5 separate regions of the Homo sapiens genome follow, and regions 1, 2, 3 and 5 are each linked to region 4. The links are contacts of gene promoters, found by promoter capture Hi-C in blood cells and fetal thymus (Javierre and others, 2016). All regions are on one chromosome and are shown on one strand. Each heading gives the region's core, a stretch centred on a gene start or on the middle of the fragment in contact. The rest is flanking DNA. Distances are from core to core; before and after follow the strand shown. Region 1 has its middle 84 kb from the start of SLC6A15. Region 2 has its middle 63 kb from the start of SLC6A15. Region 3 holds the start of TSPAN19 (tetraspanin 19). Region 4 holds the start of TMTC2 (transmembrane O-mannosyltransferase targeting cadherins 2). Region 5 overlaps LRRIQ1 (leucine rich repeats and IQ motif containing 1).

Region 1 (2,865 bases), core at 4-2,503, 2.1 Mb before region 4:
GAAATACCCAAGACTGTGTAATTTGTAAAGAAAAGAGCTTTAATTGCCTCACAGTTCTACATTGTTGGGAAGGCCTCAGGAAACATATACTTATGGTGGAAGGCAAAGAGAAGCAGGCACCTTCTTCACAGGGTGGCAGGACAGAGTGAGTGCAAGCAGGGGAAATGCCAAATGCATACAAAACCATCAGATCTCATGAGACTTACTCATTATCAGGAGAACAGCATGGGGCAAACTGACCCCAGGATCCAATTACCTCCACCTGGTCCCACCCTTGACACGTGGGGATTATGGGGATTACAATTCAGGATGAGATTTTGGGTAGGAACATAGTCAAACCATATCATTCCATCCCTGGCCTCTCCCAAATCTTGTGTCCTCACATTTTAAAACACAGTCATGGCTTTCCAACAGTCCTCCAGAGTCTTAACTCATTCCAGCATTAACCCAAAAGTCTAATTCCAAAGTCTCACCTGAGACAAGGCAAGTCCTGTCTGCCTTTGACCCTGTAAAATCAAAAGCAAGTTAGTTACTTTCAAGATACAATGGGGGTACAGGCATTGGGTAAATAAACCTGTTCCAAATAGAAGAAACTGGCCAAAACAAATGGGCTACAGGCGCCATGCAAGTCCCAAATCCAATAGGGCAGACATTAAGCCTTAAAGTTCCAAAATGATCTCCTTTGACACTAGGTCTCACATCCAGGTCATGCTGATGCAAGAGGTGGGCTCCCATGGCCTTGGACAACTCCGGCCCTGTGGCTTTGCAGGGTACAGCCCCTCTCCTAGATGCTTTCACAAGCTGGCACCAAGTGTCTGCAGCTTTTCCAGCCACATGGTGCAAGCTGTTGGTGGATCTACTGTTCTGAGAATGGGAGAATAGTGGCCCTCTTCTCACAGTTCCACTATGCAGTGTCCCAGTGGGTATTCTGTGTGGGGGCTACAACCTGATATATCCCTTCTGCACTACACTAGTAGAGGCTCTTCATGACAGCTCTGCCCCTGCAGCAAACTTCTGCCTGGACATGCAGGCATTTCCATACATCCCCTTAAATCTAGATGGAGGTTCCTAACCTCAATTCCTGACTTCTGTATATCTGCAGGCTCAACACTACATGGAAATTGCCAAGGCTTGGGACTTGCACCTTCGGAAGCAATAGCCCAGGCTGTACCTTGACCCCTTTTAGCCATGCTTGGAGGTGAAGCAGCTGGGACACAGGGGACCATGTCCCAAGGCTGCATAGAGCAGGATGCCCTGGGCCCAGCACACAAAACCATTTTTCCCTCCTAGGCCTCTGGGCCTGGATGGGAGGCACTGCCATGAAGGTATCTAACATGCCCTGGAGATGTTTTCCTCATTGTCTTGGTGATTAACATTTCTGCAGTGGGCTTGAATTTCTCCCCAGAATTTTTTTTCTATCACATCGTCATGCTGCAAATTTTCATAATTTGTATGCTCTGCTTCCTTTTGAACACTTTTCTGCTTAGAATTTCTTCTACCAGATACCCCAAATCATCTCTCTCAGGTTCAAAGTTACACAGATCCCTAGGGCAGGTGCTAAATGCCGCCAGTCTGTTTGCTAAAGTATAGCAAGAGTTCCCAACAAGTTACTCAACTCCATTTGAGACCACCTCAGCCTGGACTTCATTGCCCATATCAGTATTAGCATTTTGGTCAAAGCCATTCAACAAGTCTCTAGGAAGTTCCAAATTTTCCCAAATCTTTCTGTCTTCTGACCCCTACAGTGGTTTCAATCTCTACCTATTACCCAGTCCCAAAGTTGTTTCCACATTCTCAGGTAACTTATAGCAATGCCCCACTATCTCGGTACCAATTTACTGTATTAGTCCATTCGTATACTACTATGAAGAAATACCTGAGACTGGGTAATTTATAAAGGAAAGAGGTTTAATTGACTCACAGTTCCACATTGTTGGGGAGGCCTCAGGAAACTTAAAATCATGGTGGAAGGCAAAAAAGAAGCAGGCACCTTCTTCACAGGGTGGCAGGACAGAGTGAGTGCAAGAAGGGGAAATGCCAGACACTTATAAAACCATCAGATATTGTGAGAAACATTCATTTTCATGAGAACAGCATGGGGCAAACTGTCTCCATAATCCAGTTACCTCCACCTGGTCCTGCTCACAACATGTGGGGATTATGGAGTTTATGGGGATTACAATTCAAGATGAGATTTTGGGTAGGGACATAGCCAAACTATATCAGGAGAAAAGTTTAATTTCAAGACTTCTCCATAGAAACTTAAAAAAAAGTTTCAACAAAGAATTAACAAATAATTGTATTATTATGGTATCAAATTACACAGAATTATCATGAAGGATTTCTGGTCACATAAACTGTTTTACAAATTGTTTCCAGGCTATAAAATATGGGTGAGAAAGAAAACAGATTTACATAAGAAGTTCGATGAAGTGTTTCTGTTGGGAAGGAGATTATTTTATTTCCTTGATCTGCAATTACTTTCATCTAAGAAATAGATTTGAAATACCTGGGCATATGTACAAAGACTGAGTGTAAAGTAATAGAGAGTTGAGAAAAAGAGCTAGAGAAATGCATCTCAAACTTGAGTATGCATATGAATCAACTGAGGAGTTTGTTAAAATATAGGTTCTGATTTCATAGTTTTCTGATGAAGCCTGAGTTTCTCATTTCTAACAAGCTCCCAGATGATGCTGATATTGCTGGACCACAGACCGCACACTGAGTAGCTAGCATCTAGAGCAGTGAGTCCTATATGTGACAGCCCATCAGAGTCACCTGAGGGAGGTTTCACACCAAAAGAGAAGCCTGTGTCTAAACCTAGTTCTGAATTAGGTTCACTCAAGTGGGCCTCTGACATGTGTG
Region 2 (2,700 bases), core at 198-2,697, 2.2 Mb before region 4:
TGGAAGGAAAGGAAGAGAAAATCACATCTTATGTGGATGGTGGCAGGCAAAAAGGAGAACTCGTACGGGGACACTCCCATTTTTAAAATCATAGATCTTGTGAGACTCGTTCACTATTGCAAGAATAGTGCAGGAAAGACCTGCCCCCGTAATTCAATCACCTCTCACTGGGTTACCCCCATGACATGTGGGAATTGTTGGCGTTACAATTCAAGATAAGATTTGGGTAGGGACACAGAAAAACCATATCAGCCACAAATATGTACACCTACAATATACCCATAATAATTAAAAATAAAAAATTAAAACATAAAAGAATGAAGGAGAAAATGTACTGAGTAAGGTATTAGAGTCATAATGAGATAGTCTAGTATATTGATACAGTGAGACCTTAGGACATAATTTCATGAAAATATATTTGCATTTTCATGTGTTTGTGTTTATGTGTATTTTTATGCAGAAGTTACTTCTTTTTAACAAATCATCAAATCAGTATGTGTTTCCAGTAAATTCAAGATCAATACATAGTGCTCCTTAACTATAATTATGTTTTCAATCACCTGTACACTTGTTAAAGCTATATTTCTGTGTTAGTCTATTCTCACACTGCTATGTAGAAATACCTGAGACTGGATAATTTATAAAGGAAAGAGGTATAATTACCTCATAGTTCCACAGGGCTGGGAAGGCCTCAGGAAACTTACAATCACGGCAGAAGGGGAAGCAAACACGTCCTTCTTCACATGGCAGCAGGAAAGAGAAGTGCTGAGTGAAGGGGGAAAATCCCTTATAAAACCATCATATCTCATGAGAACTCACTCACTGTCACAAGAACAGCATGAGGGAACCACCCCTGTGACCTAATTATCTCTCATGAGTTCCCTCCCCCAACACATGTGGAATACAATTTGGATTAGAATTCAAGATAAGATTCGGATGGAGACAAAGAGCCAAACCATATCAATTTCCAACCTACTAAATAAAAATTCTTCTGGGGTTGGAAGCAGGACAAGAGTATAGTTTTAAAACTTCACAGTTATTCTAATATATATTCTTGGTTAGGAATTATGGGTGCAAAGAAAATTTAAAAATGACAAGTAAAATATTGATTTTGATATCCTTTGGATGTGGTTTCTCCTTGACTAAAATGCATGTAGAAATTTTATCCGCAATGTGGCAGTATTGGAATATGGGGCCTGATGGGAGACGTTTGGGTCATGGGAGTGGACCACTCATGGATTGCTTGGTGGCTTTCTTGCAGAAGTGAGTTCTCTCTCTCATGAGACTGGATTAGTTCTTATAAGAATGGAATAGTGCCCATGAGATTGGGTTGTTATAAAGGGAAGTTCCTCCTGGTTGATCCCTTTTCACACGTCTTCTTCCCTTTTGACCTTCTACCATGTTGTGACCAGCACAAAAGCCCTCACCAGAAGCCAAGCAGATGCTGGCACCATGCTTCTTGAACTTCCCAGCCTGCAGAACCATGAGCTAATTAAACTCTTTTCTTCATAAATTACCTGGACTTTGGTATTCTGTTATAGCAACACAAAATGAAATAAGACAAATTATTATTGCCTTTTCTCAAACAGAATGAAAATGAAAGTGCTTAGTTGTAAATTTTTGAGCCATAAAGTTTTGACAAAAAGAGAAAACCTTAAAACTCTAGAAAACTATTGGAAATATTAAAACAAAACATTCCATAAGCTATCTATTACTGAGTATAGCATATTTTCACCTTCAAAATTTGGAACTGAAATAAAATGCTTCATATGTTATTTTGCCTCAAATGCTTAACTCCAAAGTTGGCTCATCCTCTAGCTATTATGACATGAAATTCTACCTAAAAGTTTGTCTTAAGAATACCTCTCATGTGGAGGTGAAAAGAAAAAAGGGACTAAACATTATCTTGTCCTAAATTAAATGCCCTTTGGATTTGGTTATTGCTTTAACACACCAAGATCATTTTTAGTACCACCATCAAAACATATGTACACACACTGTCACCACCAAAACCCAAAACACCTGAATTGTTTGAACAGCAAAAACGTGCCATGTGGTGCCTCTGCAATACCATATGTGGTGCTGCATAAATAAAAGAAACCATCTCCTGCAGATGAGTGGTGATATCCCAGCTGCTATTATTTTTCATCAATTGCCTTTTCAGGGTATATTCAGTTGCATAGTAAAGAAGATTAAAAAAAAACTAATTAGTAGAGATTGACATTTGTTTTTCTGAGAATAGAATTTTTTCAGGAACAGTCTAATATACTAGTTCCAAAAATTGGTTGTTTCAGTGTTTTTAAGGAATGTTTCATTATAAAAAGCAAAAAAAAGTAGAACATGAAACCCCAGCACACCTTGACCTGATAATATAGAGTAAATTTTAAAAATTTCAAGCACAATAACAATGTGGCAGCCATTCTATCTGCTCATCACTAGCATTTACACACATTAGTGCAAGGTCAATAGAATTAATAATGCAGACACCTGGCTTATATTTATTCCCTCCAGAGCACTCTCTGTCTCATCGGGGATATGCCTTTTTAAACCTCCATTTTAAAGATTTCAATTTGAGCAAATATTAAAAGGATTAATACTGGAACATATGAGCATTACAATAATGAAATTAATATCTTATAGAACTGAACAATGAAGATTGCCTGTCTGAGCAGAAGGGACCTGGATGTCCGAATCGCTGCT
Region 3 (2,700 bases), core at 174-2,673, 2.4 Mb before region 4:
AATCATGCTAAAATGTTCACAAGTAAAAACAAAAATCAGGATATAAATATATATAATGATAATCCCAATTTTACGAAGATGTATAGGTGACTATATATATTCAATATAATTTATATTTATATAAATTGTTTATAACAATGCTGCTAAAAATGAGAAGTACATAAAAACATCCTGAGAAAAGTAATATTTCTCCTGAAAAGCCTACTCCTGTTAAAAGGCTCAAAAGTGCAATACTCACTGTATCACTATCATCACTCTGGGTTTCTGATTTTGCATCACTCTCAATGTCTTCTTTTTCCAAGGAGGAAATGCTGAGTTTATCCAATTCAGCTTCTATTTCTGCTTTGAGCTTTGCATCATCATCGTCCATTATTCTTCATAATAAAGCACAGAACTGCTTTAAAAAATGAAGAGGCTAATATGTCACTAAAAATTATGTGTTCTCTAATTTGTCATACCAATCCAACATATTTATTTAAATATGTTTTAATTTAACAAACTTTTATCACACCTTATTATGGTTACACCAAACATTGTTTTATCTCTTCAATCATTCTTTTTAAACTTTGACTACAAAATGATCAACTGTAATTGTACGCTAATACTCTTATTGATTTATATGTTTATATAATTTTACTATATATAATAAAGATCAGAATTGTTTATAAAATTTTTGTTTCAGTTATTAATACATATAAATGTAGGTATGTATGCATGAGTTGCAATGTAATATGTGTTGTTGTTAATGTTCTGTTTTTTATTTTTCACTGTTGGTCTTAGTCCCAAAAAAGGTTTGAAAACGTACTAGTCAGCTATCATTTTATTTTTCATGACACTAGTTTAAACCTTTCTTTCTTTACTCAAGGGCCTGACCTTTCCACCTGTCTTCTTGTTCTTTTCTTCATTCCTTCTTTCCATCCTCTTTCCCTTTCGTTAATTCCTCCTTTCACTCTACTCAATCATCTCAAAATCAGTTCTACCCATAACTTCCACCCTCACTCACTCACTCAAAAATAAAAAATAAAATAAAAAAAGGAAAAGAAAGAAAAGAAAAGAAAAACAAAGTGAAATGGAACTCCAGACAGAACCAGGGCAAAATATTATCCTGCAATGGAACTCAAAGTGCATTTAAAAAGCTTTATTAGAAGGAAAGCTAGATTTTTTTTTTATGCCTACAAAGCAAAATGCACGGGTATACTAAACTTTATATAGAAAGAGAGGCAGGAGAGTATGGTGGAGGTAAGAGTCATTTCCTTTACATGACTTTCTCTGTTCATCTACTGGCTCATTAGATCACCCCTGTCCAATTACATATTTGAGCACTTACGCAAGTTTAAATTTTCTATTAGCAACTTTTTAAAAACAAAAGAGAAGTGCAATTAATTTTTATAATATATTTTATTTAACCCAATATATCCAAAATATTTCAACGTGTAATAACAAAATTAATTATTAATATCATTGCAAAGAGTTTATATTCTTTCTTTGGACAGTAATTCTTAGAAATCTGTTGTGTGTTTTACACCTGCAGCACATCTCAGTTAGGATTAGCTGCATTTCAAGTCCTCAGTAGCCACCTGCAGTTAGTGGTTACTGTATATGACGTGCAGTCATGGATGGGTCTCACTGTAAATGGGCTACATTAAAGTGCTCTAAGTTGATAACGAATCACTTGGAGTTCACTAAAGCTGTCAAAAGTAGAAAAGCTTAAGGAACTCCCCCTTCAACCCCTGTAAAGAAAGGGGAGAGAAATCTACTTTATAAGGTTCATATAAATTATATATTACCAAAAAAAAAAGAAAGAAAGAGAGACAGAAAAAGAAAGGGTGGAAAGGAGGGCGACAAGAAGGGAAGGAAGGAAGGAAAATAACGTCAATTGGTTTGTGGGGAGCGGTGAGTGAGTAACCATCGAATGATCCCTACATAGCCAAGACATCTCTTTAAGTTTTGAATGAGTTCTCGAAATCTCCAGGGTGGAAGGGAGCCTCGAGCTTCGCAGAGTCGCACAGCCATCCCCTGACCCGCGGTCTCTCCCTTTGCTGGAAGTCTGGCCAGGCAGAGAGAGTCCCGGCTCGGCCTGAGCTCCCACAGCTGTTCACCTCCCTCAACGGGAATCCCAGTCTTAAGACCCCGGCTCACCCCTCAGCAGCGAGATTCCTTGGCTTTGTTGTAAGACAGCGCCCATAGCCGCTACACAAAGCGTATCCATGGCAACAGCCAATCACAAGGAAGAGACACCGGTTTTTCCCTACAGGTGCTCTAGAAGGACAAACAATCTCGATTCTAAATTGAAACGAACGCAGCATTTCAGGGACTGGATGAGGAGCTTACGGTTTTTTACAGGTAGATTTTAATATTTAAGTAACTTTGGAAAATACTTAATAAAATGAAATTTTGTTATAATTACCCAAGTAGATGTAATCTCACTTTTAAATTTTTTAAATTGTTTCTGAGCTACATATATTTATATTTCCATCTGGTGATTTGCCCATGTATAAGGTGTTCATTCCACAAACCCTTAATCCTGAACAGTGATTTGTGGGACATAGAAGTATGGAAGAGAAGTCAATAAGTTGTTTGCCTTCCATGACAACAGTTTTTTAAAAAAGAAAAGAAAAGAAAAAGGAAAAAAGAAAAAAATCATCAATCAATGCCCATCAAAAACCTCTAACTGAAGGGATGTGGGTGAGAAATTTGAAA
Region 4 (2,700 bases), core at 55-2,554:
AGTAAAAGTCTATACACGTTAAAAGGGAAAGTTAAAGCAGAGAACGATCTCCCTTTTCACAATTTTGGCAACTATCAAACGTGTGTTTTAACTTCGGGAAATAAAAGTGTCCCATCAATAAAAGGAAACGGGACAGGGAGGATCTATCAGGGATCGAGGAGAGGCTTCCTCCCAACCAGACGTAAAATCACTTAATGTGCTTTGTTGCATCAAGGAATACCTAAGACTTTAATTTAATACGTTCATTAAACAGTTTCCCAAATTGCCGGGATTTCCGCTAAGAAACTCAAGCGTCTGCCAACAGCCGAGAAGCAAGGGAGAGAACCTGCTGCAAACTAGGAGCGGAAACTCCCTCGGCCCGCCCAGCGCGCCTCACGTCCCCGGTGTTTGATTTAGGTGTTAATGTTTACGTGTCGCCTAAACCATCAGGTGCTGAACCAGTTCCTCCAAGACGCACTTTGAGCCTTAAAGAGGGAAGCTTCAGAGCCACTGCGGAGTGTGCCCCCTGCAGCCCGTCGCCCCCTCCTCTCGGCCCCTTACCTGTCATCATAGCAGAAATCCGCACTCAGGGTGTTGAGATACAAGGCGAGCCCCAGAGCGCTGCTCACCAACTCTGCAATCATCTCTCCACCGCCTTCCCTCCGGCTCGGCTCCCAGCGCGAGGGCAGCAGCGGCAACAAAAAACAGAAGCATCAATCTCCACCTTCCGCCGCCTTCTCCTCCCAGCTTCACTTTTCCCTCGCTTCCCCACCCTCCCTCCCTCGGGTCCTTCCAATCCACGACTCCTCTCCTCCTCCTCGCGCCCGTCTCCGCAGCTCCTGCGTCCTCCCCGGGTGCGGGCTCACACCACACTCCCCATGCCCGGCGCCCGCAAGCGGTGAGCGGCGTTTGGGCTCCGCGTCCCCCGGCGGAAGCGCAGGGCTGGTCTTTCGCGCGGGTCGCGATCCCCACCCTAACCCATGGCAGTTTGGGGCGTCCTAGGTGAGGAGTGGGACTCGGAGGAGGTGGAAGGGTGCGGGATGGGGGCAGAGGGACCGGACCAAGCCGGGCTCTGGGACCAGCTGGAGGAAGAGAGAGAAAGAGGCGCGGGTGGGAGGGACAAGGCGAACCGCCTCCCCTCGCCGCCTCCCGGGCGCACTGCTCCGGTGTCGCTCGGGCGGACTCCGGCCGCCAAGGCAGCTGCTGCACATTCAATGTTTATTAGCTCCCTCCCAGCCCCAGCCCCAGCCCCAGCCCCAGCTCCCTTCTCCAGTGAAGTGAGAAGCGGTGGCTGGAGACTCCAGAAGCTCCCGCGTGGGGTTCTCGACGCGGCCCCCCGCGCCTGCGTGACCAACCCTCCATCCCGGCTTGGCCCAGCCCCTTTCTCCACCCAGATCCTCCCGGAAGGCTCCTCCTACCCTGCCCCTCGGGCTGGAGGCTCCTCCCACCCTCCCCGGCCTGGAGGCTCCTCCTACCAGCCTCCCGTCCTCTTGTTTCTTTCACCTTCGATTTCACTCTGGAAAGCCCCCGGGACCCAAGGGCGACGGCTGGAAGACAGCCCAAAGGAGTAGATACAGTGCACCCTGGGAGGGGAAGCTGGGAGAAAGGAGGTCGAGGAGGAGGTGGTCGGTCGCCCCGCTGCTGCCTGGCAGCGCCTGGCACGGCTGAATCTCAGCCACAGCGCTGTGTGTGCCAAGAGCTGCCAGGCGTAAGTCCGGTCAGCTGGAGAGACTTCTGAGACCGGGAGAGGAAGAACAGGTTTGGCGACTGCTGCAGCTTCGGTTGTCACAAACTCACTGGCGATCTCTCACGCACACTGTGTGTGAGACTAAATGGGGGGGAGGAGGTAGTATTGGAGAGCTTGGAGGCAACTTAGGAAGGAGAGATTTCAGCTCTTAGCCTACGGTTGGCCACAATGTCAGTGGAAAGACGTGTAGGGAGAGAAACGTTTCCTCCTTCAGTAAGGTTAAAAAGAAAGGACCCCAAAAAGGGAAAGAAAGACACACACACACCCCGCAGCAACTGCCCGGGGACCCCTTCGTGGTTTCAGAGGGACTGTCGGGTTGACCCTGAGAACACAGGAGAGAAACCTCTAGTGCAAGCCGGTACAGCATTATACTTAAACCTAGTAAGGCAGTAAGCTAATGCCCTTTCCTTTCCGCTCGGAGGCAGGACTGGATGGAAAGCATCCAACATGGTGAAATATGGTGTAGAATGGTCTGTGTAGAACAAGCTCTGGGTACTAAAGTTGCAAGACCAAAGAGGACCCAGGGCTGCCTGACACGCCTCCTCCCGGCTTGTTGGCTTTCTGGCCAGGAGAGTAGCTCCGGTGCACCGCGATGTACACTACTGCAGCGCCCCCTGCTGCATAGTAACCACAAGGTGTGGAAGACAGGTCTGTTTTGCATGCGGGCCGACTGGTTCCAACCAAGAGCAGCACCTAACCAGCAAGCTCTCCGAAACTGTGGCAAGAAATTGAGCCCCCTGGGTGTCTAGCAGTGGCCTGGAAAGAAAATACCGTGGTCTGGGCTTCTGTAGAACAAAGCTACATATTTCCCTGATTTCACAAGGAAATCTGAGAAATCTGTATTGGATACACACAGATAAAATGATGAATATTTATTAATATTATACCTGTTATGCCATCCACAGTAGCACATTTTTTGTGCCCTGGACAAATATATGTAAACAAAAATAAAAGGAATTATGTCTTTACAGGTA
Region 5 (2,700 bases), core at 200-2,699, 2.4 Mb before region 4:
ATAAAGTATGATCATTTCTCACAATGTCAGGCAACGGCAGGGAGCTGCATCTCCCAGTCAGTCACATGATCATGAGGGTAAACAACAAATACTCTACAGTGTACCACGTTGCCAGATGATTTTGCCCAGTTGTAAGCTATGTAGGTTTATCTGGATGTAACTTCATTGTAACTTGAGGAGTATCTTTATTTGCCTGGCAATGTGTAAAGAAGTATGAACAACACGAAGATCCGATTTATGTCTTGAAGTCTCAAAGTAAGAGATTAATGTAAGCAAAATGAATGCATTACTGGGAGACAATAAACTTTTCTAAGTTGATCTCCAGAAGGACATCCCAAGGATGGCAGTGAGTGATCAGGATAAGGATAAAGATCTGAAGCTAAAAGATCAGAAAGTCAAAAAGAAACTGAGCCATGGATCAGTAGTAACAGTGGTGAATAAAGACACCATGGTAAGCCATCTACCAAACAGAATCTTTACAGGAGTTGTCTGGTAACAAAAGATGATATTTTCTTAACATTTTAGCATCTATATGGCACATTCACATGTATTTTTCATCTTTATACTGCCTATTTGATGCTTCAAAGCTAAATTAAAAGCTTGAGATAGTTGCTTTAAGAAGGGATGAGAGGATTATGGTGCCCTTTAGAACACTGCTACTCAGATTAGTCCACTCACCAGCACCAACATCATCATTTAGAATCATTGCAAGAATGGAGAATGGGTGGATCACCAGACCTATTGAATCAGAATCCACATTTCTACAAAGCTTCAGGTATTCTATAGATTTTAATAGTTTGCCAGGCCTTGCTCTAAGAAGTAAAAGAAAGAGTTAATTATCATTTTATGTAAATTGACAAACGTTCGAAAGAAGGAACAGAGAGTCAGCTGGAGAAGAAATGCCAAGGAGAAAGAGGCTCACACATCTTAACTTCCTTCTCATTGGACAGAACAGAGACCTACAAAGCAAGGGAGGAACACTACTGTTTCTGTAACTTCATTTTCACTTTTGAAGCAAGTACACTGTAGGCATGAAGCCATCACTCTTGCCTAGCTTTAACAGATACTCATGAGGAAAACTAAATAATTGCTAATGTTATCATATTGGAAGGCCTGCAGCAATATGTTAGAGAAAGAAAAGTGCTAAAACATGATTCCAGAGATAACATGCGCAAGGAAAAAATTGGAGAAGAGCAGATGAGAGATTCTATATGTAGCTCTGCAGACCTGACAGATGTGGCAAATACATTACCCAGGAAATAAAAGACACTTAAAAGTGTATGTCCCAGTTCTCATCTCTTATATTGCTATTTCATATACCAGAAATATCTTCAAAATCCCACTATTTTATTATTCTCTCACAGGATACTCTGAAGCCTTATTTACAGCAATTCTCAAGATCCATAATAACGTATTTATGTGTGTTTAAGCTCCGTAAAAGACTGGGTTTTCTTTGTTTATTAGTCAACCAATAAATATTGATCATCTTATTGGATAGATGAATATTTGCTGAGTGAATAAACAAAATAATGTTTATCTATTAATATGATTGTTCTTTCTCCTAGGCATCTGTCTAGCAAGAAAGTCTATCAAGAAACTAAATAAACTTTATTGAATACTTTTGACTTTCAGGCCTTAGCTAAATATATGTATTTTAATCATAAGTGCTTTCTAGTGTTACACTGTTTAAAATATTATTTTCTCTTTTTCTATACGTTTATTAGTTTCTGTGTCTTAATTTTGGTTGAAACTATGTTCTCCATAACCATATAAAATTAGTAACATTTGATGACAACTATTTTACATTTCAGACATATATGCACCACCTTTAAATAGCACACGCTAAATAATTGTTGCTAGATGGGAATTCTAGGGTCTTCAGGGTCTTCTATCATGCAAGCCCTTCTTTCACAACAGTGGTCATGGACATAAAATCCACTTTATTCCAAAAGCAGCCACTAGGTGGTGTGGTGGCTCAAGTCTAAAGCAAACTTCTGTTTACTTAGGAGTTTCCTACTATAATTCTAACCCTAACTTTCTATATGCTTCCATTCTTAGAGGTTTAAATAATGACTGGAGGGCCCTTGAACACAGGCTTCAAGATATTAAAAAATATAAATCAAAGCTTTTTATAGAGTGTCACTTAGGGAAGATGCCTCGAACAATTTGTTGAGATATATCCCCTCCCAAATGGGGTAATATTTCATTCATAACTTTATTAAACAAGAGACAATTCTTGTATACAAAATATTTCTTTTTCTAAGATCTGAAAAGTTATACTTTAAAGAGCTAATTGTAATTAAATGTGAAAAATTATTATAAAATTAGAAATACCTGCTGTAAAGTATCCCAAGGGCCACATCGAAGAATTTCCAGTTTATCCAAAGCGGGTGTCATGTTGGCTGGGCATTTCACAGGTCTCTTTCTTCTAACAATTTTCTTTTGTTGATTTTGCTTGAAAATTTCAAGCCAAGGTTTAAATGATTTTATCCAGGCTAGTCTCCTTTCTTCAATAGAATATAGAAGGGTTGACTCTGATACACAGCAGGTCATGCTATCAGGTTCAGGTGCATTTTCATGGCATTTTTCTGAAATATTTCTAATCTCAGATTTAAGAGAGTTGACTTCTTTAGATACCATGGAGCTTTCTGCATTATAGTTACTCAAGCCCTCACAAGGAGCATGTCTACCTAACACATA

The links. Contacts are between HindIII fragments. The CHiCAGO score rates a contact against its expected background, and 5 or more counts as called.
Region 1: a contact is called between a fragment that was not itself captured here and the fragment with the promoter of TMTC2 in region 4, in 1 of 17 cell types (naive B cells). The highest score is 5.3, in naive B cells.
Region 2: a fragment that was not itself captured here is called in contact with the fragment with the promoter of TMTC2 in region 4 in 5 of 17 cell types (total CD4 T cells, naive B cells, naive CD8 T cells and 2 more); the score reaches 18.5 in total CD4 T cells.
Region 3: a fragment that was not itself captured here is called in contact with the fragment with the promoter of TMTC2 in region 4 in 1 of 17 cell types (naive B cells); the score reaches 8.7 in naive B cells.
Region 5: a contact is called between a fragment that was not itself captured here and the fragment with the promoter of TMTC2 in region 4, in 1 of 17 cell types (naive CD4 T cells). The highest score is 5.6, in naive CD4 T cells.

Annotation. Positions count from the first base shown.
Region 1 is chr12:84,827,059-84,829,923 of GRCh38, reverse strand. No RefSeq gene overlaps it. Among named protein-coding and RNA genes, the nearest start is that of SLC6A15, 84 kb to the left of the region's middle. The HindIII fragment of the contact is 3,650 bases long and covers 1-2,865 here.
Region 2 is chr12:84,848,912-84,851,611 of GRCh38, reverse strand. No RefSeq gene overlaps it. Among named protein-coding and RNA genes, the nearest start is that of SLC6A15, 63 kb to the left of the region's middle. The HindIII fragment of the contact is 9,785 bases long and covers 1-2,700 here.
Region 3 is chr12:85,035,847-85,038,546 of GRCh38, reverse strand. It overlaps TSPAN19 (tetraspanin 19), which reads left to right and starts at 2,270. Exons shown (of 9, transcript NM_001100917.2): 1 at 2,270-2,343. It overlaps LRRIQ1 (leucine rich repeats and IQ motif containing 1), which reads right to left and starts at 2,196. Exons shown (of 27, transcript NM_001079910.2): 1 at 2,140-2,196; 2 at 239-394. The coding sequence starts at 370. The HindIII fragment of the contact is 570 bases long and covers 1,139-1,708 here.
Region 4 is chr12:82,685,510-82,688,209 of GRCh38, reverse strand. TMTC2 (transmembrane O-mannosyltransferase targeting cadherins 2) reads right to left here and starts at 1,304. Exons shown (of 12, transcript NM_152588.3): 1 at 541-1,304. The coding sequence starts at 623. RefSeq lists silencers at 284-343, 704-753, 1,324-1,423, 2,274-2,353 and enhancers at 1,464-1,673, 1,694-1,843. The HindIII fragment of the contact is 3,615 bases long and covers 481-2,700 here.
Region 5 is chr12:85,056,819-85,059,518 of GRCh38, reverse strand. LRRIQ1 (leucine rich repeats and IQ motif containing 1) reads right to left here. Exons shown (of 27, transcript NM_001079910.2): 8 at 2,335-2,700. Among named protein-coding and RNA genes, the nearest start is that of LRRIQ1, 22 kb to the right of the region's middle. The HindIII fragment of the contact is 1,356 bases long and covers 772-2,127 here.